3 separate regions of the Homo sapiens genome follow, and regions 1 and 2 are each linked to region 3. The links are contacts of gene promoters, found by promoter capture Hi-C in blood cells and fetal thymus (Javierre and others, 2016). All regions are on one chromosome and are shown on one strand. The core of a region is centred on a gene start or on the middle of the fragment in contact, and the rest is flanking DNA. Distances in the headings are between cores, read along the strand shown. Region 1 overlaps SEH1L (SEH1 like nucleoporin). Region 2 overlaps PRELID3A (PRELI domain containing 3A). Region 3 holds the start of CEP76 (centrosomal protein 76).

What was found. The method cuts DNA at HindIII sites, captures the fragments that hold promoters and counts their contacts. A CHiCAGO score of 5 or more calls a contact.
Region 1: a fragment that was not itself captured here is called in contact with the fragment with the promoter of CEP76 in region 3 in 10 of 17 cell types (total CD8 T cells, neutrophils, erythroblasts and 7 more); the score reaches 8.2 in total CD8 T cells.
Region 2: a contact is called between a fragment that was not itself captured here and the fragment with the promoter of CEP76 in region 3, in 8 of 17 cell types (endothelial precursors, M0 macrophages, M1 macrophages and 5 more). The highest score is 7.9, in endothelial precursors.

The regions. Positions count from the first base shown.
Region 1 is chr18:12,970,245-12,975,052 of GRCh38, forward strand. SEH1L (SEH1 like nucleoporin) reads left to right here. Exons shown (of 9, transcript NM_001013437.2): 5 at 909-1,007. Among named protein-coding and RNA genes, the nearest start is that of CEP192, 19 kb to the right of the region's middle. The HindIII fragment of the contact is 2,520 bases long and covers 2,197-4,716 here.
Region 2 is chr18:12,419,267-12,424,172 of GRCh38, forward strand. It overlaps PRELID3A (PRELI domain containing 3A), which reads left to right. Exons shown (of 7, transcript NM_001142405.2): 2 at 1,059-1,227; 3 at 2,274-2,363. Among named protein-coding and RNA genes, the nearest start is that of PRELID3A, 14 kb to the left of the region's middle. RefSeq lists a silencer at 1,218-1,367. The HindIII fragment of the contact is 6,008 bases long and covers 1-4,298 here.
Region 3 is chr18:12,700,339-12,704,725 of GRCh38, forward strand. It overlaps CEP76 (centrosomal protein 76), which reads right to left and starts at 2,385. Exons shown (of 12, transcript NM_024899.4): 1 at 2,148-2,385; 2 at 620-775. The coding sequence starts at 2,210. It overlaps PSMG2 (proteasome assembly chaperone 2), which reads left to right and starts at 2,704. Exons shown (of 7, transcript NM_020232.5): 1 at 2,704-2,826. The coding sequence starts at 2,770. RefSeq lists enhancers at 1,530-2,427, 1,713-2,012, 2,023-2,072. The HindIII fragment of the contact is 2,487 bases long and covers 904-3,390 here.

The sequences.
Region 1 (4,808 bases), core at 2,207-4,706, 270 kb after region 3:
AAATTAAAAAGTCATTCAGCTTATAGTTCAGGAGAGCCATTCTTTCATTGCTCATCTTTTGCCTTTTTCAAAATGAGGTTGACCACAGATGAGTCTAGGGAGGGGAATGACGTGGGGATCGTGACTTCTGCAGGGGTAGTCTTTTCCACTTTTCCCCTGTCCATCTGTTTTTTCTTCTTCTTTTCTTTTTTTCTGAAAGAGACTCTCACTCTGTTGCCCAGGCTAGAGTGCAGTGGCACGATCATAGCTCACTGCAGCCTCCAACTCCTGGGCGCAAGTGATCCTCCTGCCTCAGCTCCTGAGTAGCTGAGACAAACGGCACATGCCACCACACCAGGCTAATTAAACAAATTTTTTTTTTGTAGAGATAGAGTCTTATTATGTGGCCCAGGTTCTTCTTGAACTCCTGGCCTCAAATGATCCTCTCTCCTGAGTCTCTCAAAATGCTGGGATTACAGGCATGAGCCACCCTGCCGCAGTGTTTCTTCTTTTTGTCAAAGCACTTAAGATCTTTTTGTCATGAAGTTAGTCACAGTAGGGTTACTTTTTGTTTCATAGTTAATGACCAAAAATTTCAGGAGGAAAAATTACTAAGACCTCTTAAGTATCTTTTAAAAATATGTTGAATGCTTGAAAGCTTTTTTCAGGCAAAGAGCTCCTTTCTATCTGAGCCATAAGAATATGCTAAAAACAGTTCATAAGGATGGAATCTTCAGTTCCCATGTGTGACATTCTCAGGTGCATACTTGCAGTGTGGCCATGTCAGCTATGTGGCAGAGACCTAGATTCACTAGTAGTGTGACAGGCTAACTGTAAGCTGGTTGTCTGCTTGCCTCCAGTGTGTTCATTCTGTGAATGAAATGTGTATTTCTTTTGTTATCTAAAATGTTCTTTCTCCCCGTTTCTAGCTCTCGTGCTCATTCCCCCATGATCGCCGTAGGAAGTGATGACAGTAGCCCCAACGCAATGGCCAAGGTTCAGATTTTTGAATATAATGAAAACACCAGGTCAGTCCTGCTTTGGTTTTAATAATTGTTCAGAATTGCATTTAATTTTTTAAAATGTTATTTCTTTATTCATTTACAGAATTATGTGTCATTCATCATATGTTTGCTGATTTACTATAATATACCAAGTTCTGTGCTAGGCTGTGATAGCACAGGCATGAGTGATAAAGAGGAGAAAGTAGACCAGCCTGGCCAATATGGTGAAACCCCGTCTCTACTAAAAGTACAAAAAATTAGCTGGGTGTGGTGGCAGGTGCCTGTAATCCCAGCTACTCGGGAGGCTGAGGCAGGAGAATCGCTTGAACCCAGGAGGCGGAGGTTGCAGTGAGCTGAGATTGCGCTATTGCACTCCAGGCTGGGCAACAAGAGCGAAACCCTGCCTCAAAAAAAAAAAGAGGAGAAGGTAATTGATCTCCCAGTATGATGTACCATCTTGCAGTGAAACAAAAAATAATAGTAAAAAAGGGTGATGAATCTTATGAAGTGGAAGAATTAGGGTGCTAAAGAGCTTATACCTGGGGAACCTAATCTGGTTTAGGGGCTAGGAAGGTTCACCTAGAAGATGACCTATAGGGTGAGTAGAAGTTAGCCAGACAAAGAGGGCAGAAGCACTCCTGGTGGAGAAAACTGCATGTGGTAAGGCCGTGAGCAAGAGAGAGGGAGTATATTTATACTGTTGTTGGAACATGCTGGGCAAAAATGAGTGTGGAGAGAAATAGGCAAGACTTGTATCTATAAGAAGTAATGTCCATTGTTTCAGTTTTATCTTACAGGTGATGTGAATAGGGAATAATGGGATCAGATGGATCTTCTATAGGTGTGACAAGTGTTTTGGAGGGAAACATGGTGGATTCACGGCTAGGATGCTATGAAGACAGTCCAGGTGGGAGAGTACGTGGCTTTGGGATAGTAGTAGCAGTGGCATGGAGATAAGTGGACAACTTGAGAATAATTGAGAAGTGGTATCAATAGGATCTGGTGATTGATTGGATTTGAGAACTGAACTGAGGAAGAAGGGGGAAGGTGTTAAGATGATTTCCAAGGTTCTGGCTTAAGAGTTCAGTGTGTAATTTCAATGTGTGTAATTTCTTGAGATAAGGAACTCTGGGAACAAGGCAGATTTGGGTAGAGTGTGGCAGCATGTGAAGGTAAGTTAATTTTGGTCATGCCGAGATACAAGTGTCTGCAAAGCTTCTGAGAGCCAAAAGCAGTGTCTCAGAGGCACACTACTCAGTCTTACAGGAGAAGAGAGCACTTGTCAGGTGATCAGATGGGCTTCGCAGGTACTAGACAAAATTCTTGAGTCTAATAGTCAGATCTTAGGCAGGGCCAGCAGTAGAGAAGGAACTAGTGTTACTCCCGTGGGCTCTGCAATTCCAAATGTTACCATCTGGGTTACCAAGGGGATCTTACACCTTCTACCTTCCTAGATTGTTGGTGTCTGCAGAGAGGCTCAGTCTTCAACAGTGCTGTCCAGTAGAATGTGCTGCAGTGATGGGAAATGGTCTTAGAGATTTTCATGGAGTTTTAAGCTGTAAAAACTATGAGCCCTATTAATAGCACATTTTATAGAGGCTTCATGAAGTGTTGGGCTTGTTAAAGTAAATTTCAACCTGAGCTGAGCAGAATGAATATGTAGACATAAGCCCAAAAACGTAAAAGGTGTATCATTGGCCACGCGAGGTGACTTATGCCTGCCATCTCAGCACTTTGGGAGGCTGAGGTGGGTGGATCACTTGAGTCTAGGAATTCAAGACCAGCCTGGACAACATGGTGAAACCCTTTCGCTACAAAAAGTACAAAAATTAGCTGTGGGGATGATGGCGCATGCCTGTAGTTCCAGCTACTTGGGAGACTGAGGTGGGATGATCACCTGAGCCTGGGAGGTCGAGGCTGCGGTAAATCAAAATTGCACCACTTCACTCCAGCAGTGTCAAAAAAAGATTTTTTTCTAAAACATAGGAAAAGAAAATATTTCATAAGTAAGATTTGAGTAAAAAGATAAATAACTTGCAGTTAGTTCTGAAAGAAAATACAGGCAAATAGAAATTACCTATTTTTTTTTTTTTTGAGAGTCTCACTCTGTCACCCAAGCTGGAGTGCAGTGATGCAATCTCAGCTCACTGCAACCTCTACCTCCCGAGTTCAAGTGATTCTCCTGCCTTAGCCTCCTGAATAGCTGGGATTACAAGTGCGTGCCACCACGCCTGGCTAATTTTTGTATTTTTAGTAGAGACGGGGTTTCACCATGTTGGCCAGGCTTGTCTTGAACTCCTGACCTCAGGTGATCCACCCACCTCGGCCTCCCAAAGTGCTGGGATTACAGGTGTGAGCCACCACGGCCGGCCTAGAAATTACCTAAGTATTTCTAAATTACCTAAATAATCCAATGTTAAAAATAATCTGAGATTGCATTTGAGTCTAGTCTCTTAGCTAACAGAATAAATCTAGACTGGGGGATTCCCTGTATTATGTCATGTGACAAGGAGCCTGAGGGTGGAGCAGTTCTGGGGTTAGGTAGTGACTCAGTTGCTCAATGATGACATCAAGGACCTACCTAAATATTTTCCACTTTTTTCTTGCTGTCATGCTTAGTACACTGGTGATAGCTCCCTCTTATGATCACAAAAGAGCTGCACAATGTCAGGTTTTACATGCTAATACAAAGAAGGGTATTCTAGAAAAAAACACCTTTCCTAGAAGTATCTTAGCAGGCTTCTTATCAGGTGCTGGCGGCTGGAGTTTGGTCATCCAGCCATGCCTTAGCTGCAAGAGAGTGAGACAGCAAGTGTCTGGCATTTTCAGCATCAAAAACGAGGGGAAGTGGTGTTGGGGAAAGAGTGTCTGCAGGTGGGGGTGTGTGCTATTGACTTGGGAAGTAATCAAACCTATTAAGTTCAGCACTTTTTGGAGTTCTGTTGCTGGTTCTTTGAGGTAAGCATTGTTTGAAGGTTCTTATTTAGATTGAACGTGGAGGAGATGTGATAGTGGACTATGTAGTATCGTTATTAATACCTGTTTATCTTTTTCTCTCTTTTTTTTTCTTTGAGATGGAGTCTCACTCTGTTTCCAGGCTAGAGTGCAGTGGCGCAACCTTGGCTCGCTTCAACCTTTGCCTCCCGGGTTCAAGCGATTCTCCTGCCTCAGCCTCCCCGGTAGCTGGGACTACAGGCACCCGCCACCATGCCCAGCTAACTTTTGTATTTTTAGTAGAGATGGGGTTTCACCATTTTGGCCAGGATGGTCTCCATCTCTTGATCTTGTGATCCGCCCACCTCAGCCTTCCAAAGTGCTGGGATTACAGGTGTGAGCCACCACGCCCGGCCTGTTTATCTTTTTCTAAGTAGTATCACCATTTAGTAGACAGGAGACATTTGCCAAATTAACCAGTGTTGGATATATTTGTTTTTATTTGTGAGTGAAAATACTAAAACAGATCTAGGATTGATAGTGATAATAGAAGTGCCATGTGTTTATATAGGTTACCGGGCATTTTTATGTGTGTTATGAAGTTTGAATCCTACCAACCACCTTGTAAGTAGAGGAGACAGCTTTTATTAACACTGTTTTACAAATGAGAAAACTGAGACCAACAGAGTGAATGACTAGTCTAAGGTCCAGAGTCAGGACCAGAAACAAAGTCTTTTTTGTTCATTCTCTTTATTTACACTCTCATTGAGGATCTTATTTGGCTCCTTCTGATAGGAGAAGCTTTAGATAACCTTAATTATTTTTATTTTTATTTTATTTTTTTTTTTGAGATGAAGTTTCACTCTTGTTGCCCAGGTTGGAGTGCAATGG
Region 2 (4,906 bases), core at 45-2,544, 280 kb before region 3:
AGTGAGCCGAGACAGAGCCATTGCACTCCAGCCTGGGTGACAGAGCGAGACTCCATATCAAAAAAAAAAAAAAAAAAGTTGGCCAGGCGTGGTGGCTTATGCCTGTAATCCCAGCACTTTGGGAGGCTGAGGCAGGCGGATCACTTGAGGTCAGGAGTTCCAGACCAGCCTGGCCAACATGGGGAAATCCCATCTCTACTAAAAATACAAAAATTAGCCAGGTGTGGTGGTGGGTGCCTGTAATCCCAGCTACTAGAGAGGCTGAGGCAGAAGAATCACTTGAACCCGGGAGGCGGAGGTTGCAGTGAGCTGAGATCGTGCCACGGCACTCCAGCCTGGGTGATAGAGTGAGACCCCATCTCAAAAAAAAATTAATTAATTTAAAAAGTTAGGCCGGGCGTGGTGGCTCACGCCTGTAATCTCAGCACTTTGGGAGGCCGAGGCGGGCAGATCACGAGGTCAGGAGATCGAGAGCACGGTGAAACCCCCTCTCTACTAAAAAATAGAAAACAATTAGCCAGGCATGGTGGGGGGCGCCTGTAGCCCCAGCTGCTCCGGAGGCTGGGGCAGGAGAATGGCGGGAACCCGGGAGGCGGAGCTTGCAGTGAGCTGAGATCGCGCCACTGCACTCCGGCCTGGGTGACAGAGCAAGACTCCGTCTCAAACAAAAAAGTCATTCAGGTTTGGTGGCACACGCCTGTAGTCCCAGCTACTGGAGGTGGGGCAAGAGGAGGCTGAGGCAGGATGTTCACTTGAGCCTGGGAGGTTTGAGTCTGCAGTGACCCTGATGGCACCACTGCATTCCTGCCTGCTGGGCGACAGAGTGAGACCCTGTCTCAGACAAACAAAAACCAAGGGGCTGCCAGGTGCCGAGGCGTGCAGGTGCTGAGCCGGCGGCCGGGGAGGGCTCGCGGGACTCCTCAGATTTGTCGGACCAGCCTTTCATTAAAGTGAAGAGACTAGCGCGTTGCCCAGGCCTGGCGGCGGCTTTTCCTCCCCTTCACCCTTGCGGCCCCGGCCCCGGCGCTTGCTCACCGCCGCCTATGCTCTCCCCGCAGCCACCCGTGGGACACGGTCATCCAGGCGGCCATGCGCAAGTACCCGAACCCGATGAACCCGAGCGTGCTGGGCGTGGATGTGCTACAGCGCCGCGTGGACGGCCGCGGCCGCCTGCACAGCTTGCGCCTGCTCAGCACCGAGTGGGGGCTGCCCAGCCTCGTGAGAGCGGTGAGCGGGGCGGGGGCTGCGGCTCCGAACGCGCCCGACTCCCCCACTCCCGCCCCCGCCCTCTCCCGCGTCCCTCCTCCCCTCATCAGTGCCTCTGCTGCTTTGGCTGCCATCGGGGTGGGAGGGCGGCGGGGGGCCTTTCCTGAGATCAGGGGGCGCGGGGTGGGGGTGGCGGTGGGGGGAACTTCCCCGAGATCAGGGGGCACGGGCTGGGGGGCTGGTGGGAGGGTTTTCCTCGAGATCGGGGGGCGTGGGGTGGGGGGTCGGTGGGGGGGGATCTTCCTCGAGATCGGGGGTCACGGGGTGGGGGGACGGTGGGGGGGTCTTCCTCGAGATCGGGGGTCGCGGGAGGCTCTGCCTGGCGCGTGGCGTCTGGCATCCCCATCTGTCCTCCCAAAGGGCCCGGGCCTGCTGGATTAGCACTGCCAGGCGCCCCTCCTCCTGGTTTAACCGCCTCTAAAGCCCAGCGTCCGCAGCCAGCCGCATCCTAGGGCACCGGGATTAGGCTTCACCATGGTTCAGCCCCCCGTGGCCTCTTCCTCAGAGCCAGGGAGGTCGCTGGAAATGCAAATCTGAGCACGGCTCACCCCAACCCGGCCCCTGGATCTCGCCTCCACCTGCAGTCCACACCCTGGCCTGGCGCAGGCCTCTCAGTCAGCCCAGCTCCTGCTGCAGGGGCCTGCACCTGCTGCCCCCAGCCTGACACCCCCACCCCAGCACTATGGTGGTACCTTCCTCTTTGGGGCTCTGCCCAGACTCCGCCCGGCAGAGGGGCCTCCTAGCTCCACTGCCCGCAGCCTGTTTTATTTTGCCGGGAGCATAGTGCTGCTGCACGCTCCACTCTGTTGGAATTCATTTCTTTGCTCAGTGGCTCACCTGCTGGAGCGGAAGCGCCCTGGACACAGGGGTTTTGTCTCTGTCCCTTGCTGCATCCCATGATATCATTTCTTGAATAGTGAACTAATTAGTAAATGCAATGGTATTCGGTGGTGATATGAAGTAGAATTTTTAACGTTCCACTATGCTAGTTTTGCTTTGTTTTCTAGATTTTGGGAACCAGTAGGACATTGACATACATCCGAGAACATTCTGTGGTGGATCCAGTGGAAAAGAAAATGGAACTTTGTTCTACCAATGTAAGCAATGGCCTCAGATGAGAAACGGGCTCAGTGTGTCTGGGTGGTGGTGCGTAAGGCCTTCGTTTAATTCTATTTCCAGCCCACCTTTGGTCTAGGTGTTGCTTATTTTTAACAGAAAGGCTGAATTCATTTAGCAGTTTATCTTTTTATTCAAGTATAATAAGTATATAGAAAAATGCACATAATGATGAATTGTCACAAAGAACGCACCTCTTAACTAGCAGGCAGTTCAAGCAACAGAATTTGACCAGCCCCTGAGACCCCTTGGGCACCCCCCACAGGATAACCACTGTCCTGACAACCAGCAGACGTTTTTGTTTTTTTAAAGATGGGGTCTTGCCCTGTCACCCGGGCTGGAGTGCAGTGGTGTGGTCATAGCTCAGTGCAGCCTCGCACTCCTGGGCTCAAGTGATCCTCCTGCCTCAGCTTCCCAAATAGCTGGGACCACAGGCACGTGCCACCATCCCTGGCTGTTTTTTTATTTTTATTTTTCACAGAGATAGGATCTCGCTGTTGCCAAGGCTGATCTCAAACTCCTGGTCTCAAGTGATGCCTTTCAACGTGCTTTTTTTTTTTTTTTTTTAATTTTTGAGACAGTCTCTCTCTCTCACCTAGGCTGGAGTGCAGTGGATCTCAGCACCCTGCAACCTCCACTTCATGGGTTCAAGCGATTCTCCTGTCTCACCCTCCCAAGTAGCTGGGACTACAGGTGTGTACCACCAACAGGCATTTTTTTTTTTTTTTGAGATGGAGTCTCACCCTGTCGCCCAGGCTGGAGTGCAGTGGCGTGATCTCGGCTCACTGCAACCTCCGCCCCCTGGTTTCAAGCCATTCTCCTGCCTCAGCCTCCTGAGTAGCTAGGATTACAGCCGCGTGCCACTACACCTGGCTAATTTTTGTATTTTTAGTAAACAGGAGGTTTCACCATGTTGGTCAGGCTGGTCTCAAACTCCTGACCTCGTGATCCACCCGCCTCAGCCTCCCAAAGTACTGGGATTATGGGTGTGAGCCACCGCACCTGGCCCCAACAGGTATTTTTAAAGCTACTTCCCCCCTTCACTCCTCTCTCACTTCTCTCAATTAAAAAATGTATATTGGCCTAATGCAAATGCAAGAACATGTTGGGAAATATGCATGGGCTAGCAAAATTATTTATTTCAAAAAATAATCCTTATTTTCAGCAAATATAGAAATGGGCTATGGTGGGTGAAGTCAGCGGTGCCCTCATCTGGCCTCACTTTTCTGTCCCCAGTGCCATGGTTGGCTCTAGCCACCACTATTTACTGGTTCTGCCAACGGTATCAAGTGCCTGCCAGGTACCCAGCACAGTGCTAGGGATGGGGAATGCAAGGATTAAGATATTTCCTCCTGACTGGCTCTGTCATCGCACGGTGGGCATCTAGACAACCCACATAGGTGGCAGCGAGCAGGAGCTCCCCTAAGTGGCCATGTGAAGGTAGGTGACAGGGAGCCTGGCAGGACTTCTCCATACACACTGGCAGTGGGCGCCCTTGAGCCTTAGAGAGCCACAAACAGATGGCGTTAGAGACTAAGAGGGGAAGGTGGTGTGGGAGGGAGGAGGCTGGAGAGGGGCAGGCACAAGACCACAGAAGAGGCAGAGGAGCCGGAGGTCGTTTTCGTGGTAAGAGGGAGCCACTGAGAGTTTGTTGCAGGAAGGTGAGGTAGCCGGGTTGTGTGTTGGGAAGAATACCTTGGCAGCCCTGTGGAGAGAGGGCCGGGGGGATGTTGGGACCTGAGCCAGGGAGACCAGTAGTCCGGGCAGGTAATTGTCCAGGTGAGAGGTAGCAGAGGCCACCTGGGGTGAGACATGGGGAGTAAGGAACAGGAGGCTCACGACGCAGCTCTGCTCTCTGGTTAGGGCGCCAGGCTGAATGGTGGCCCATGAGGGGCAGGTGTGAGAAGAGAGAGGTAAGCTTGCTTTGCACATCTTGAGTATGCAGCCCCTGCACAGCAGGCTGTGGAGTGTCCAGCCTGAAGCTGAAGGTGCGGCCAGCAGTGCTGCAGTGAGGGAATGGCGACCTGGTCCCAGGGGCAGGCAGGGCTGGTGGGTGCAGTGGGTGGGGACAGGGCTGAGGAGCAGGTCATCCAGGCGGCCATGCGCAAGTACCCGAACCGGTACCTGGGCAGCTCCCCATCTTCTCAGCATCTTGTGGGAGGCCCAGTGTTTGAAAGAAAGTGGAGCTGCTCTGGGTCCTGCGGCTCCCCTGCCCCAACCAGAGGGCCTCGGGAGCTCCTATGAGCTTCTCAGGTGGCCATGGGAACAGTCCCCCAGGATGCTCAGTGCTGTCGGCCAGCCACACTCTGCCCAGCTGGGAGCACCTTCCGTAGAAGGCAGTGGGTGCATCCCTGTGTGCTGAGATGAGGCTGTGAGCCACCTGCAGGATAGAGCCTAGCTCCTTAGTGTACTACCTGGACTTCTGCCAATGTTCCCTGGTCCTATTGGCTCCTTGTCCCAGGCTGCACAAAGTCACAGGAGCCTGTCAGGTCCCCACTGGCTATTCCTGACAGCTTACGTATTA
Region 3 (4,387 bases), core at 1,135-3,634:
TATTAAAATACTTATTCCCTATTGTATTATGAAGTCCATCCAATTTTCACATTATATTACCCAGGTATTGAGGTCACAGTTTCCATTATTGCCTCACTTTCAAATGAAGGCCTACTTACTAATTGTGCACTGAGAGACTATCATCCCATTATTGACCTATTTGTATTAAAAGATTTGAGGACTCTTATGCAGTCAATTATTTTCTTAAAGAAATTTGTAATTTGTTAATCATAGAGAATATAATCCCAAAAGAGTGCTTATTTTAAAAATACGCTTAATCTAAAAAAGTTACAGATCATAATGAAAAAGAACTTTGTTATGGTGAACTAATTGGACTAAAGTATGTATATTCAAATTTACAGACCTAGAAAATAAGAGAAAATTCTGTCACTGTAGAGACAGGAATAAGATATCTAACACAAATTTCATTGATACACAAAACTATTCAGTATATTCAAGGGCAGAGCTAGCCTATACTTGAAACAAGGACACTAGTAAACAGAATGACCTTGAAGTGGTTTTACTAAAACGAAAGGCCCCACATCGGAACCTTATAAGTAGTGTTACGCATTAGTATATACATATATACTCTCATTTATTTCCCTAAAAGATTACTCACAGTAACAAAATTAAGTTCTTTCATCACATCGTCAATGATTCCTCGACGTCTAAGGGCTTTGATCAAATCTTCTGTTGATAAATGCTGTTGATCAGGTGCCAATTCTTCCCGTATAGTCTCAGCAAGGATTTCTCTTATTCTACCATGGACATCCATCTATGTAGAAAACTCATATTACAATTTATAACATCACAAAGCAGTCAAATACTGCTTCTGAAGTTTTAAGGTTCTCCAGCTAACAGTAAATGCACAATTGTTACCACAATTGAATGGGAACAAAGGTAAGCTTTTAAAGAATGAATCTTTTGAGTACAAATTCTAGAAATAGTCTCCACTGGTTATCTGGCACCTTTGTTACCATTTCTCCACAAACAACACTCAACCAAAAGGAATCTTCTGAGAGGGAGTATAGTATAATCAGAAGAACACGGACTGGGAGTAGGCAGATCAAAGTATGATCTTATTACTTTCATACTTTGATCTGCCTAATGATAAGGGAATCTTACCAGCTTTCAACTTAGTAGATGTGTAACCTCAAGCCAACTTATTTACCCTTTATAAATCTGTTTCGTCACCGATAAGAATGGAAAAACCTAGTGTAGTGCCCTCTCACGATAGTGTTGTGAGGATTAAAGATACTAGACAGCACAAAGCCTGGCACACAAGGGCACCATAAATGGTCGCTTTTATCACTTCAGCATCTTGCACTCAGTCGAGCGAGCGCTGCAGAAACTGGAGGTTCTTCTGGAGCTCCGAAATATTAACAAATTCCGTCATTACAAACCCTTTAGTAACTTCTCTTCCATGACTTATTTGAGAATTGCTGATTGAAGCTCCTGGTTCAACTTCGCTGATACCCACATGTTTCAGCGGTAAAGAAACCCTGATATCTGCCGGGCGCGGAGGCTCACGCCTGTAATCCCAGCACTTTAGGAGGCCGAGGCGGCCGGATCACGAAGTCAGGAGTTCGGGACCAGCCACACCAACATGGTGAAACCGTCTCTACTAAAAATACAAAAATTAGCCGAGCGTGGTGGCGCGCGCCTGTAATCCCAGCTACTCGGGAGGCTGAGGCGGAGAATCGCTTAAACCTGGGAGGCGGAGGTTGCAGTGAGCCGAGATCGTGCCACTGCACTCCAGCCTGGGCAACAGAGAGACTCCGTCTCAAGAAAGAAAAAAAACCTGATATCTTACAGCAGAATATAAACCTCCAAATACAACTTACACTCGATCCGACTTCCAGAAGTCGCTCGCTAAGCGCTTCATTCTCACGGCCGTCCTAAAACGCCAAGACCGCTCGTTCTATCGCCCCAGACTCTTGCTAGCACCTGCTCGGCTCGTTTTCTTTCTCGGAGACGAGGACGCTCTCCTGCCTCAAACTCAAAGCTCTGCCTACTCTGCGTTGCGCACCCCACAATCCTCGCTACAGTCCCGGCAAGCAGATGCCGCTGTCGGCCCGGGGCCGCCGGGCAGGAGGGAAAGGTTATGGGTCGGCCCGGCGGTCTCTCCCAGCACCCGCGACTCTCACCTTGCTCAGCTGCTGGTGGATGAGCTGCTTCAGCTCGGAGGCTTTCTCCGGAGGCAGCGACATGCTGGCAGCCGGCGTCTCCCCGCCGCTTCTCCCCGCCTCAGATGCCCTAACTGCGCGGCCCCGGCCGGGCCAGGGAGCGTTAGGAGCGACTGGAGCACAAAGCGCCGCAGCCGTTCGCCTAGCGCAGCTCCCGGGGGACGCAACGCCGCGTCAGGCCGGGGGCTGACCTGGAAATGAGGCCCCGGCGGCGGCGGCGCCAACTGTTTTCAAACAGTGGCGGACAAACAGGGCTTGGGGCTGGCCCGCACGCTGCCTGATCGTTTCCGCCCGCCGCTCCACCTCCCCGCGGGCCCCGCACCCCGAGACCTCAGCGCACCCCATCGCCTTGCTTGCCAGGGTCTCCGAAAGCGCTGCTGGCCCCTCTTCGCGGCCACCCGGCGGCCTCTTTCCGCCCTCTGAACCGGCAGTTAGCTGGACGGGCCTCAAGGGCCCGGCGCCCAGGGACTCAAAGGACCCTCCCGCGCCCCGCGAGGCTCCGGGGTCTCGGGCTTCCGCCTTCTTGCTGCCCTCGTTCTTGCCAGGGCCGCGGTTAGTCCCTGCTGGCCACCCCACTGCGACCATGTTCGTTCCCTGCGGGGAGTCGGCCCCCGACCTTGCCGGCTTCACCCTCCTAATGGTGAGTCTCCATTTGCGCTCGGGGCTGCCGCCTCCCGAGGCCCCTGCGGTGTCGCCACCCCGACGCGGGGTGTTTGGCGGTGCCTTGGGAGAAATAGGGCACTAGTTTCTATTTCATGTTTTCGGCCGGAAAAAACAGGGAGGTTGTAGCCGGAGGCAGCCGTCCAAACAGAACCTTTGTCGGCTGTAAAACCAAACGTAGTCAAGTCTACAATTTGTAGTCTCTGTTTCCTGTAAAACGTGATGTGTTCGTACGTTCTAGATACACTGTACTTATGTTTTGCAGGGCATCCTTCAGTTTTATCCTAGAAAGTCTTTCTACGACTAGTTTTAGAATTAGTCTTAAGCTAGCATATTATCGTTGTTAACCGGAGAACTACTGATAGGGCAATAAACATTAACTCTTGCCGGTAGTTAGCGCAGTTTTATCGCTCTTTATATTCATTCATTGTTTTAATAAAGTCTGTTATGTGCGAGTATTAGAATAAGACTAGGTGCGTGCCCTCAAAGAATTTACACTGTAGTTGGAAACATGTAATCTAAGAGCAATAAATGCTAGGCTAGAAGCTTGAAAGGGTATAGAAAGGTCCTGAGATAATTGGGAGGGGAGGGACAGATGGCTTGTTAAGAAAGGCTTTATAGAGAAAGTAGTATGCAAAAGATGGAGGGCCCGTGGGCTGGGAGTAGGGGAAAGTAGGCGTTTCAGAAAGATGGATGTCTAAAACAGAGTCAGTAAGCAGGGGGACTTGAAGACTGCCAAGAATTTGGAATGACACATTGAGAGAGAATAGGCTGTAGGCCCTGTGAACCCAGAAGGCACCATTGGAAAATGCACTGTTTGGAGTGGTATAAGGCTGGAGAGAGCTGGAAGTGTCATCCTTATTCATTACATATAAAACACACAGCCCCAGAGAAGAGTGTTTCAAAAAGGAGGGAGTGGCCATGTCAAAAGTAGCCCAGAGATGTGTAAGGTGAAGAAAGTGTATGTTTGGATTTAGCGACATGTTAATGATGGTCACCTGGACAAACAGTTACCAGTGAAGTGGTGAAGAGGAAAGCCATATTGGAGTGGGTTGAATGAATGATAGAAAACAAGTTAAAGATTTGGGTTGTATAATATATATTCAGTCATTAATTCAGAGACAGGCATGATGGCTCATGCCTGTAATCCCAGCACTTTAGAAGGCCGAGTACAGGAGGATCGCTTGAGCTCAGGAGTTCAAGACCAGCCTGGGCGACATAGTGATACCTCATCTCTACAAAAAAATAAATAAAAATTAGCCAGGTGTGGTTTCCTGCACCTGTATCTCAGCTACTCGGGAAGCTGAGGTGGGAGGATCACTTGAGCCCAGGAAGCAGAGGCTGCAGTGAGCTGAAATCGTGCCACTGCACTCCAGCCTGGGCGACAGAGTGAGACCCTGTCTCAAAAAACTTTTTTTTAATAAGAGATAAAGTTTCTGCTTATGTTTTCGTGGACGACTTGGAGAATTTTTGCTACATAGAGAAACAAGAAATGAGGTTGCAGTTAGAGGGCTATGTGGGGTCAAGGGAGAGCCTTTTAG